Regions from separate parts of the Homo sapiens genome. Here all the other regions are linked to region 1. The links are contacts of gene promoters, found by promoter capture Hi-C in human tissues and cell types (Jung and others, 2019). All regions are on one chromosome and are shown on one strand. Each heading gives the region's core, a stretch centred on a gene start or on the middle of the fragment in contact. The rest is flanking DNA. Distances are from core to core; before and after follow the strand shown. Region 1 holds the start of ZNF57 (zinc finger protein 57). Region 2 holds the start of CELF5 (CUGBP Elav-like family member 5). Region 3 holds the start of NCLN (nicalin).

Region 1 (2,732 bases), core at 93-2,592:
GGCCAACATAGTGAAACCCCCGTCTCTACTAAAAATACAAAAATTAGCCGGACGTGGTGGCAGGCGCCTGTAATCTCAGCTACTCGGGAGGCTGAGGCAGGAGAATCGCTTTAACCCTGAAGGCGGAGGTTGCAGTGAGCCGAGATCACGCCACTGCACTCCAGCCGGGGCGACAGTGTGAGACTCCGTCTCAAAATAAAAAAATAAATAAAACAAAAAACAATGTCCAACAAAAAAACAAATCCAGCGAGGCCAGACAGGATAGGGGCTCCCTGGGGTCCGCCCATTTTCGGGATCAGGTGACTCGAGGTTTGGTCCTTATTTTAGTGCAGGCTCAGATGTCGGGGGCGAGCCAAAGTGCAGGGGCCTGTGGGAAGGACAGGAGGCTGGGAAACGTTTGGGTAAAAAAATCAGGACACTGGCCGTGCGCGGTGGCTCACGCCTGTAATCCCAGCACTTTGGGAGGCCGAGGCGGGCCGATCACGAGGTCAGGAGATCGAGACCATCCTGGCTAACACGGTGAAACCTCGTCTCTACTAAAAATACAAAAAAATTAGCCGGCGTGGTGGCGGGTGCCTGTGTCCCAGCTACTCGGGAGGCTGAGGTAGGAGAATGGCCTGAACCCGGGAGGCGGAGCTTGCAGTGAGCCGAGATGGCGCCACTGCACTCCAGCCTGGGCGACAGAGCGAGACTCCACCTCAAAAAAAAAAAAAAAAAAAAAAAAAAAAATCAGGACACTGACAGCACGTGCTCCAGCACGGGGCAGGGCCTCCATGGGGTCCGCGCCCACGCGGGGCAGCGCGGTGACGTCACGGCTGAGGACCCCGCCCCACGAAGGGCTCACCCCACGCGACCCACGCCGCTCGCTCGCCCCTCCCCTCCACGCAGCACTCCGGCTGCTCCGTGGGGAAACTGAGTCTGGACTTCTCGTGCCCGTTCGGGAGAAGGACGCGGGAGGCGCGGCCGAGCTGCGGGGAGAGGTTGGGCTCACCCCGGGCCAGAGCGAGTTCGCGCAAACGGGAGTGTCCACCGCTGGCGGGTCAGCCACTAGCGTTGGCTACGCGCCGGTCACTCGGGCGACAGGAGGCGGGGCGGCGCGGAAGTTATCTTCCAATCAGGTGCTCCGGGGGCGGGTCCGGAAAACTGTCCAATCAAGGCACGGGGCGGACACCGGGAAGCGGATTGCAGGTTTGCAGTAGTGTCCAATCGAAGGCCCCAGGGGTGAAGGGGGCGTGTCCAAAACGCTGTCCGCTCAGAGCGTTGAAAGGGCGGGGGCTTAGAGATTGTCCAATCAGGGCGCCGCTTCCTGAGCTCCGAGGCCCCGAGGGCGGGACGTTTCGTCCTCCCTGCCGCGCGTGCCCTGCCTACCACGAGCGGCCCGGGAGTACCTGTACCTTTCAGCTGCGCCGGCCGCGAGGCCACGGAGAGCTCGCCTTGGAGAGCCCAGGAGCAGGGGAGACATGGTGAGTGCGAGGCAGGAGCAGAGCCAGGGGACGGTCGGAGCGACGGGAACCGGCTGGAACCAGAGTCCGCCGAAGTCTGCGGCCGGGATTGGCTGAGGGACGCGCGGGGCGGCGCAGGACTAGCACCTGGGACCCGGGGACGCCATCACAGCGGCCGGGCTGGAGGACTGGGGGCAGTTTGGGGGGACGGAAGGGGCGGCAAGGAGCTTGGGGGTAACTTAGGGGGAGGCCTGGGCAGGAGGGGGGCTGGAGGTAGTTTGGGGGGACGGTAGGGGCGGTCAGGGGTCAGGGACCAGTTTGGGGGGACGGCAAGGGACGGTCAGCAGGTTGGGGATGTTACGCGTGTCCGTATAAGAGGTCACCTGAGCAGGCTTAGTGTGAGCCACAAGGCTGTTTACTCACTTGGGTGCAAGTGGGCTGAGTCTGAGAAAGGACTCAGCAAAGGGTGATGGGATTATTATTGGTTTTATTTTTTTATTTTTTTTATTTTTGGGACGGAGTCCCGCTCTGTCGCCAGGCTGGAGTGCAGTGGCGTGATCTCGGCTCACTGCAACTTCCGCCTCCCGGGTTCAAGCGATTCTCCTGCCTCAGCCTCCGGAGTAGCTGAGATTACAGGCGCCCGCCCTCACGCCCGGCTAATTTTTGTTTTTAGTAGAGACAGGGTTTCACCATGTTGGCCAGAATGGTCTCGATCTCTTGACCTTGTGATCCGCCCGCCTCGGCCTCCCAAAGTGCTGGGATTACAGGCGTGAGCCACCGCGCCCGGCAATCATTAGTCCTTATAGGTTTGGGACAGGCATCGGAGTTAGGAGCAGTTTTTTTGAGGACAGTTGGTGGGTGTTACAAAGTACATTCTCAAGGGCGGCGACGATGTTTCAAAGTACATTCACAAGGGCTTGGGGGATGTATTGTCACAAGGGCTGGGAGGAATATTACAAAGTACCTTCACAAGGGCGCGAGCGTGTATTGTCACAAGGGCGGGGTACATTCACAAGGGCGAGGAGGACGTATCGTACAAAGTACATTCACAAGGGCGGGGGAATATCACAAAGTACATTATCACAAGGGCGGGGGGCTTGACCATGGTGCGGCCAGCTCAGAGAACCTTACAGGGGACAGCTTGGGGGGATGGCAAGGGACGGCCTGGGGGTCAGAGGCAGTTTGGGGGACGACCTCAGCGGTGGGAGTTAGCTGCCCTGGGGGTTTTGTTGCAGGGTATCACTAATGCTGTGAAAGCTTTATTCGGGCAGCCGGTGTCAGTAAATGTAC
Region 2 (2,732 bases), core at 166-2,665, 320 kb after region 1:
TTTTTTTTTTTTTTCTCAAACAGAGTTTCACTCTTGTTGCCCAGGCTGGAGTGCAATGGCGCAATCTCGGCTCACTGCAATCTCCGCCTCCCGGGTTCAAGCGATTTTCCTGCCTCAGCCTCCTGAGTAGCTGGGATTACAGGCATGCACAACCATGCCTGGCTAATTTTTGTGTTTTTAGTAGAGACAGAGTTTTCTCCATGTTGATCAGGCTGGTCTCGAACTCCTGATCTCAGGTGATCCACCTGCCTCAGCCTCCCAAAGTGCTGGGATTACAGGTGTGAGCCATCGTGCCTGGCCTGTTTTCTTATTTTTTACAGCAATGGCGTCTCACTATGTTGCTCAGGCTGGTCTCCAACTCCTGGGCTCAAGTGGTCCTCCTGACTCTGCTTCTCAAAGTGCTGGGATTACAGGTGTGAGCCACCACGGCCAGCACGTATTATTATTTTTATTAATATTATTGATGAGTTTCATACGTAAAGGATCACGGGCACTTTAGAGCTGGGAGATACTTCAGTATTTCTCCTATCCTGTCATTATCAGTGCGAGCCAGTCTCCCTCCTTGTTGATGACATTATTGATGAGTTACATACTTAAAGGGCCAAGGACACTTTCTATGTGTAAGCACCCTATAGAACTGGAAGATACTTTTACCATTTCTCCTGTGCTGTCGTGATTAGTGGGAGCACTTTGTCTTGCTCTTGATTAATTATTATTAGTGTTGTTATTATTAGGTGTTTTTTTTTTTTTTTTTTACCAAGACGGAGTTTTGCTCTTGTTGCCCAGGCTGGAGTACAATGGCACAATCTTGGCTCACTGCAACCTCCGCCTCCTGGGTTCAAGTGATTATCCTGCCTCAGCCTCCCGAGTAGCTGGGATTACAGGCACCCCCCGCCACCGAGCCCAGCTAATTTTTGTATTCTTTAGTAGAGACGGGGTTTCACCGTGTTAGCCAGTCTGGTCTCGAACTCCTGACCTCAAGTGATCCACCCACCTCGGCCTCCCAAAGTGCTGAGATGACAGGCGTGAGCCACCGCGCCCAGCCATATTATTAGTGTTATTAATATTATTGATGAGTTACCTACTTTAAGGATCACGGGCGCTTTCAACGACAAGCCCCCTACATTATCCCAGCAACTTTTGACATTCTTCCGGCCGATGCCCTCCGCGGGAGCCGGCGGGGACCCCTGGGAAGCCGGCTAAGGCCCGTCCCGCCCGCAGCTCCGCCCTCGCCCACCCGTAGGCGGGGCCCGGGGCCTTCCGGCCTCAGTTTCCCCCCGCGGCCCGGGGATGCGGGGAGGCGCCGGCTGCCCCGCGCGGCGCGGCCGCCAGGGGCCGCTGCGGAGCCGCCTTTGTGGTCCCGATGCCGGGGCGGGCGCGGGCGGGAGGAGGGCGCGGGGGCCCGGGAGGGAGGCGGGAGGCGCGGCCGCCGCTCCAGCTGCGAGTCCGCCCGCCGCCCGCCGCCGCCGCCGCCGGCTCGGTCCCGCGCCCGCCATGGCCCGCCTGACGGAGAGCGAGGCGCGCCGGCAGCAGCAGCAGCTCCTGCAGCCGCGGCCCTCGCCCGTGGGCAGCAGCGGGCCCGAGCCCCCCGGGGGGCAGCCCGACGGCATGAAGGACCTGGACGCCATCAAACTCTTCGTGGGCCAGATCCCGCGGCACCTGGACGAGAAGGACCTCAAGCCGCTCTTCGAGCAGTTCGGCCGCATCTACGAGCTCACGGTGCTCAAAGACCCCTACACGGGGATGCACAAAGGTGGGCGCCCGGCCCCCTCCCCCCTCTCCCCCTCCCTCCGCCTCCCACCCCACCTTCCGGCATCTTCTCTCCCCCATCACCATCCCTCCTCTGCTCACCTCCCTCCTCTGCCTGCCTCTGCCGGAGCATCGGTTCTTACCCCCTCCCTCCCACCCACCCCTCCTCCCCTCTCTGGGGGTGCAGCTGACAGATCCGAGCGGGCCCCCTCCCCTCCTCCGCCCCCTCTCCCTCCCTCCCCACCTTCCGGCATCTCCTCTCTCTCTCCCTCTCTCTCTCCCTCTCTCTCTCCCTTTCTCTTCTCTCCCATCTCCCTCGACCTCTCATCCTTCCCCCCACAGCACCCTCTCTCTCCCTCCCTCCCTCCCTCACCCTTCCATCCCCCAGACCCCCACCCCTTCCTCCCTCCCTCACCCCACTCTTTCCTGCCCGTTTGCCAGGGGAGCCTCGGGAACGCCGGCACCCCTCCCTGCCCCCCCACCCCCATTCATTCAGCCTCCCCAGGCCCCGTCGGGGAAGTTTGCACCTGCGGACTCCATTGCTTTGGTTATTTTCACAAAGCCAGGCCGGCGGGGCAGGTCCGGCCGCGGGGGACACGGATGCCCAGGACCCCAGGCTAATCGGTAACTACAAAGGAAGACGGGTTGGGGGCGCCCGGCTCGGGGGGACGCGCCCGCCTCGCCTGCCTCGGGTGGCGGAGAGGCTCCCGTCGCTGCCCACCCCCTGGCCCCACCACCTCCGCGTGGATCAGCATTCTCTCCTCCATTTCTCTGCCCTCCCCCTCCCCCGCCTCCACCTTGGGCTCAAGTTGAAACTGGCCGAGCCTCTTAGCAATGTGTTGGGGTCTCAGGCCCAAGACAATGAGCTTGGACGTGTCCATCTGGGCAGAGCCCAAATTCTGGGGTGGACAGGGAGGAGGAGGGAGGCGTGGGCGGCCTCAGGCCTGTCTGCCTCCCTCCCACTGGATTCTCCCTCCGATGGC
Region 3 (2,732 bases), core at 129-2,628, 290 kb after region 1:
CAGCACCCACCACACGGCTGGCACACAGTAGGTGCTCAGTGACCCAGCAGCACACTCAGAAACTCCCTTTCTAGCCGGGCGCGGTAGCTCACGCCTGTAATTTACAGCTACTCAGGAGGCTGAGACACAGGAATTGCTTGAACCCAGGAGGTGGAGGTTGCGGTGAGCTGAGATCAAGCCACTGCACTCCAGCCTAGGTGACAGAGACTACATCTCAAAAACAAACAAACAAACAAACAAACAAACAGAATTCTCACATGCTGCTGGCAGGGAGAGTGCTTGATTCTTTATCATTATATCTGAGGAAACTGAGACTCTGAGAGGTGAAGCGACTTGCCCAAAGCCACACAGCTGGGAAATGGAGGAGTTGGGATTTGAGCCCAGGCTCTTAATCGGCACCAATGCCACTTCTCACTTGGGACAGAAAGGAAGCCCTGACTCCTTAGGCAGCTGTACGGAGCCTGGGATGATAACGTGCTGAGAGCCAGGGCTACTGTCTGCTGCACCCTGGGGCTCAGTCTCCCCATCTGTACAAAGGGACGTTCCTTAGGTACCTCCAGCCCTGAGACACTGGGTTTTAACTTTAAATTTCTGATGAACAACAAATACTTTTTTAGTATAAGTATGCCCCAAATATGAATAAAGATAAATATAAATACCTGCCACCGACCCCTGCACAAACCGCAGGTTCCAGACTACAAGTCCCACAACCCACTGCGGCCTCCCTTAGGAACTGACTATCATGACTTTCTATTTTTCATTCATTCATTCAAAAATGGTATAGGCCACCCGCCGTGCGCCAGGTCTTGTGCTAGATGCCGGGGATACATCATATGCACAAAACAGACAAAAGTTTTTGCCTTCGTGGAGTTTGACATCTACATCCTCGGGAGTTTTAAGTGATTTTTGTTTTTCTCAGCAATTTCTGCCAGGACGACTACAGTTCCCGTGACCCTTTGTGTGTTTGACGGGACTACAACTCCCAGAAGACCTAGCGCGCCAGGCAGGCACTTCCTTTTCTCTTTATCCCCAACTTCCTTCCAGGTCGCAAGGTCACGTCCTGTCCCCACCTTTCGCCCCTCACCCTAGCTCCCCCAACGCCAAAGACAAGGTTAAGAAAGTGATATCGCGAAATAGTTTTTTAAAGCATTTTATTGCATTTTATGACTTGGAGTTTATGTGAAACCTCAACGGTATTAGCCGAACAGCCTGCCGCACCTTCCGGGAGTTCCAGAGTGGGCCTACAACTCCCACAGGGCTCCGCGAGCGCCGGACGGACGGACTACAATTCCCGACAGGCAGCGCGGCTGGCGGGGCGGTTCGCCGCGGTGCCCACAGGACCTCAGGGCGAGTGCGGGCTGCCCCGCGCGGCGCCCGCAGGACCCCGGCGGCTACCCATGCCGAGGTGAGTCCGCGGGAGCCGCCGCCGCCGCCGTCCCGTCCCAGCTGCCGCCCCGCGCGGCCCCGCCGCCGGCCAGGATGCTGGAGGAAGCGGGCGAGGTGCTGGAGAACATGCTGAAGGCGTCTTGTCTGCCGCTCGGCTTCATCGTCTTCCTGCCCGCTGTGCTGCTGCTGGTGGCGCCGCCGCTGCCTGCCGCCGACGCCGCGCACGAGTTCACCGTGTACCGCATGCAGCAGTACGACCTGCAGGGCCAGCCCTACGGTGCGTGTCCCCGGCCCACCCTCGGGGCTCCCCGGGCTCCCCGGCCACGCCACTCCGGCCCGGCGATCCCCAGGCCGATCCCTAGCTCCGGCCTGGGCTGCCCGACCCATGCTCAGGCCCCAGGCGAGGCAGAGCCCTGCCGCCCTGGACCCCCGGGCGCCCTGGAATCCCTGCTCTCCTTGCCTAGCGCCCAGGGACCCCCCGCGCTCGCTCCCACAGCCCCCGGCCCCTGCCTAGGTCTCCCTGCCCCGGAACCCATGGCCGGGCCAAGCGTCCCGCGTCCCTGGAGCCCTAAGTCCCCTCTCTCCTGTCCCCAGCTGGGCCGGCGTCTGCCTGCCTTGCCGAGTTTCTCCCTCCTGGGCCCCCTCCGCCCCTTAGGCTTCCTGGTCCGGGCTCACTTGAGCAGACGCTCCCGTCCTGACCTCCAGCTCCCAGGGTCCTGTTCTGGAGACCATCTGGTTGGTCTCTGGATTCACTGGGTCACGTCCGTGTTCCCAGGCCTCTCGCCTTTAGCTGACTGCGTTTGGAGTTAAAGGTCCCTGCACTGATTTCTGCCAGGCTGAGCCACCCGACGCGGTGGTCCAGCATTCCCCACCCCCTCCCACGGCCCTGGGTGCCAAGTGCATTTTGTCCAGTGCCCAAATTCAACTCCCCTGAATTTTCTCGCTCTAGTCACCGGCCCCCACGTCAAGGGCACATTTGTCCCCAGACCCCTGACGCTCTCTGGTCCCAGTTCGTGAGTCATGTTTCAGAATCTGCTAGCCCAGCTTCCCTGGTCTCCTCCCACGTCCCCAGTTCAGTCCACTCGCCTGGGGTTCCCTTTGACCCCCTTTCTGTCCCGCCTTTGATGCATACCCACGCCCTCAGCTCAGCCTCCTCACACCCACTTCCCAGAACCCCACTTGTTCCATCTTTCCAGGATTTCCTCTTCCCTTTCCAAATTCGCACCCCCTTGCCCTTGCATTCTGCAAGTCTCCCACTCAACAGCCTCGCCCCCTCCCGTCGTGGCCCTGACCCCAGTGTCTAGACCATTCCACATCCCCTTGTCTTTGCCTGGCTATAGCTGTCC

The links. Contacts are between HindIII fragments. The study calls those that stand out against the background at their distance.
Region 2: the fragment with the promoter of CELF5 here is called in contact with the fragment with the promoter of ZNF57 in region 1 in 1 of the 25 tissues and cell types used here (dorsolateral prefrontal cortex).
Region 3: the fragment with the promoter of NCLN here is called in contact with the fragment with the promoter of ZNF57 in region 1 in 1 of the 25 tissues and cell types used here (dorsolateral prefrontal cortex).

Annotation. Positions count from the first base shown.
Region 1 is chr19:2,899,586-2,902,317 of GRCh38, forward strand. It overlaps ZNF57 (zinc finger protein 57), which reads left to right and starts at 1,343. Exons shown (of 4, transcript NM_173480.3): 1 at 1,343-1,463. The coding sequence starts at 1,461. RefSeq lists a silencer at 731-780 and enhancers at 960-1,531, 1,391-1,540. The HindIII fragment of the contact is 10,438 bases long and covers 1-2,732 here.
Region 2 is chr19:3,223,246-3,225,977 of GRCh38, forward strand. CELF5 (CUGBP Elav-like family member 5) reads left to right here and starts at 1,416. Exons shown (of 13, transcript NM_021938.4): 1 at 1,416-1,753. The coding sequence starts at 1,495. RefSeq lists a silencer at 1,237-1,356. The HindIII fragment of the contact is 19,492 bases long and covers 1-2,732 here.
Region 3 is chr19:3,184,552-3,187,283 of GRCh38, forward strand. It overlaps NCLN (nicalin), which reads left to right and starts at 1,379. Exons shown (of 15, transcript NM_020170.4): 1 at 1,379-1,663. The coding sequence starts at 1,480. RefSeq lists enhancers at 457-1,339, 646-785 and a silencer at 1,296-1,865. The HindIII fragment of the contact is 11,170 bases long and covers 1-2,732 here.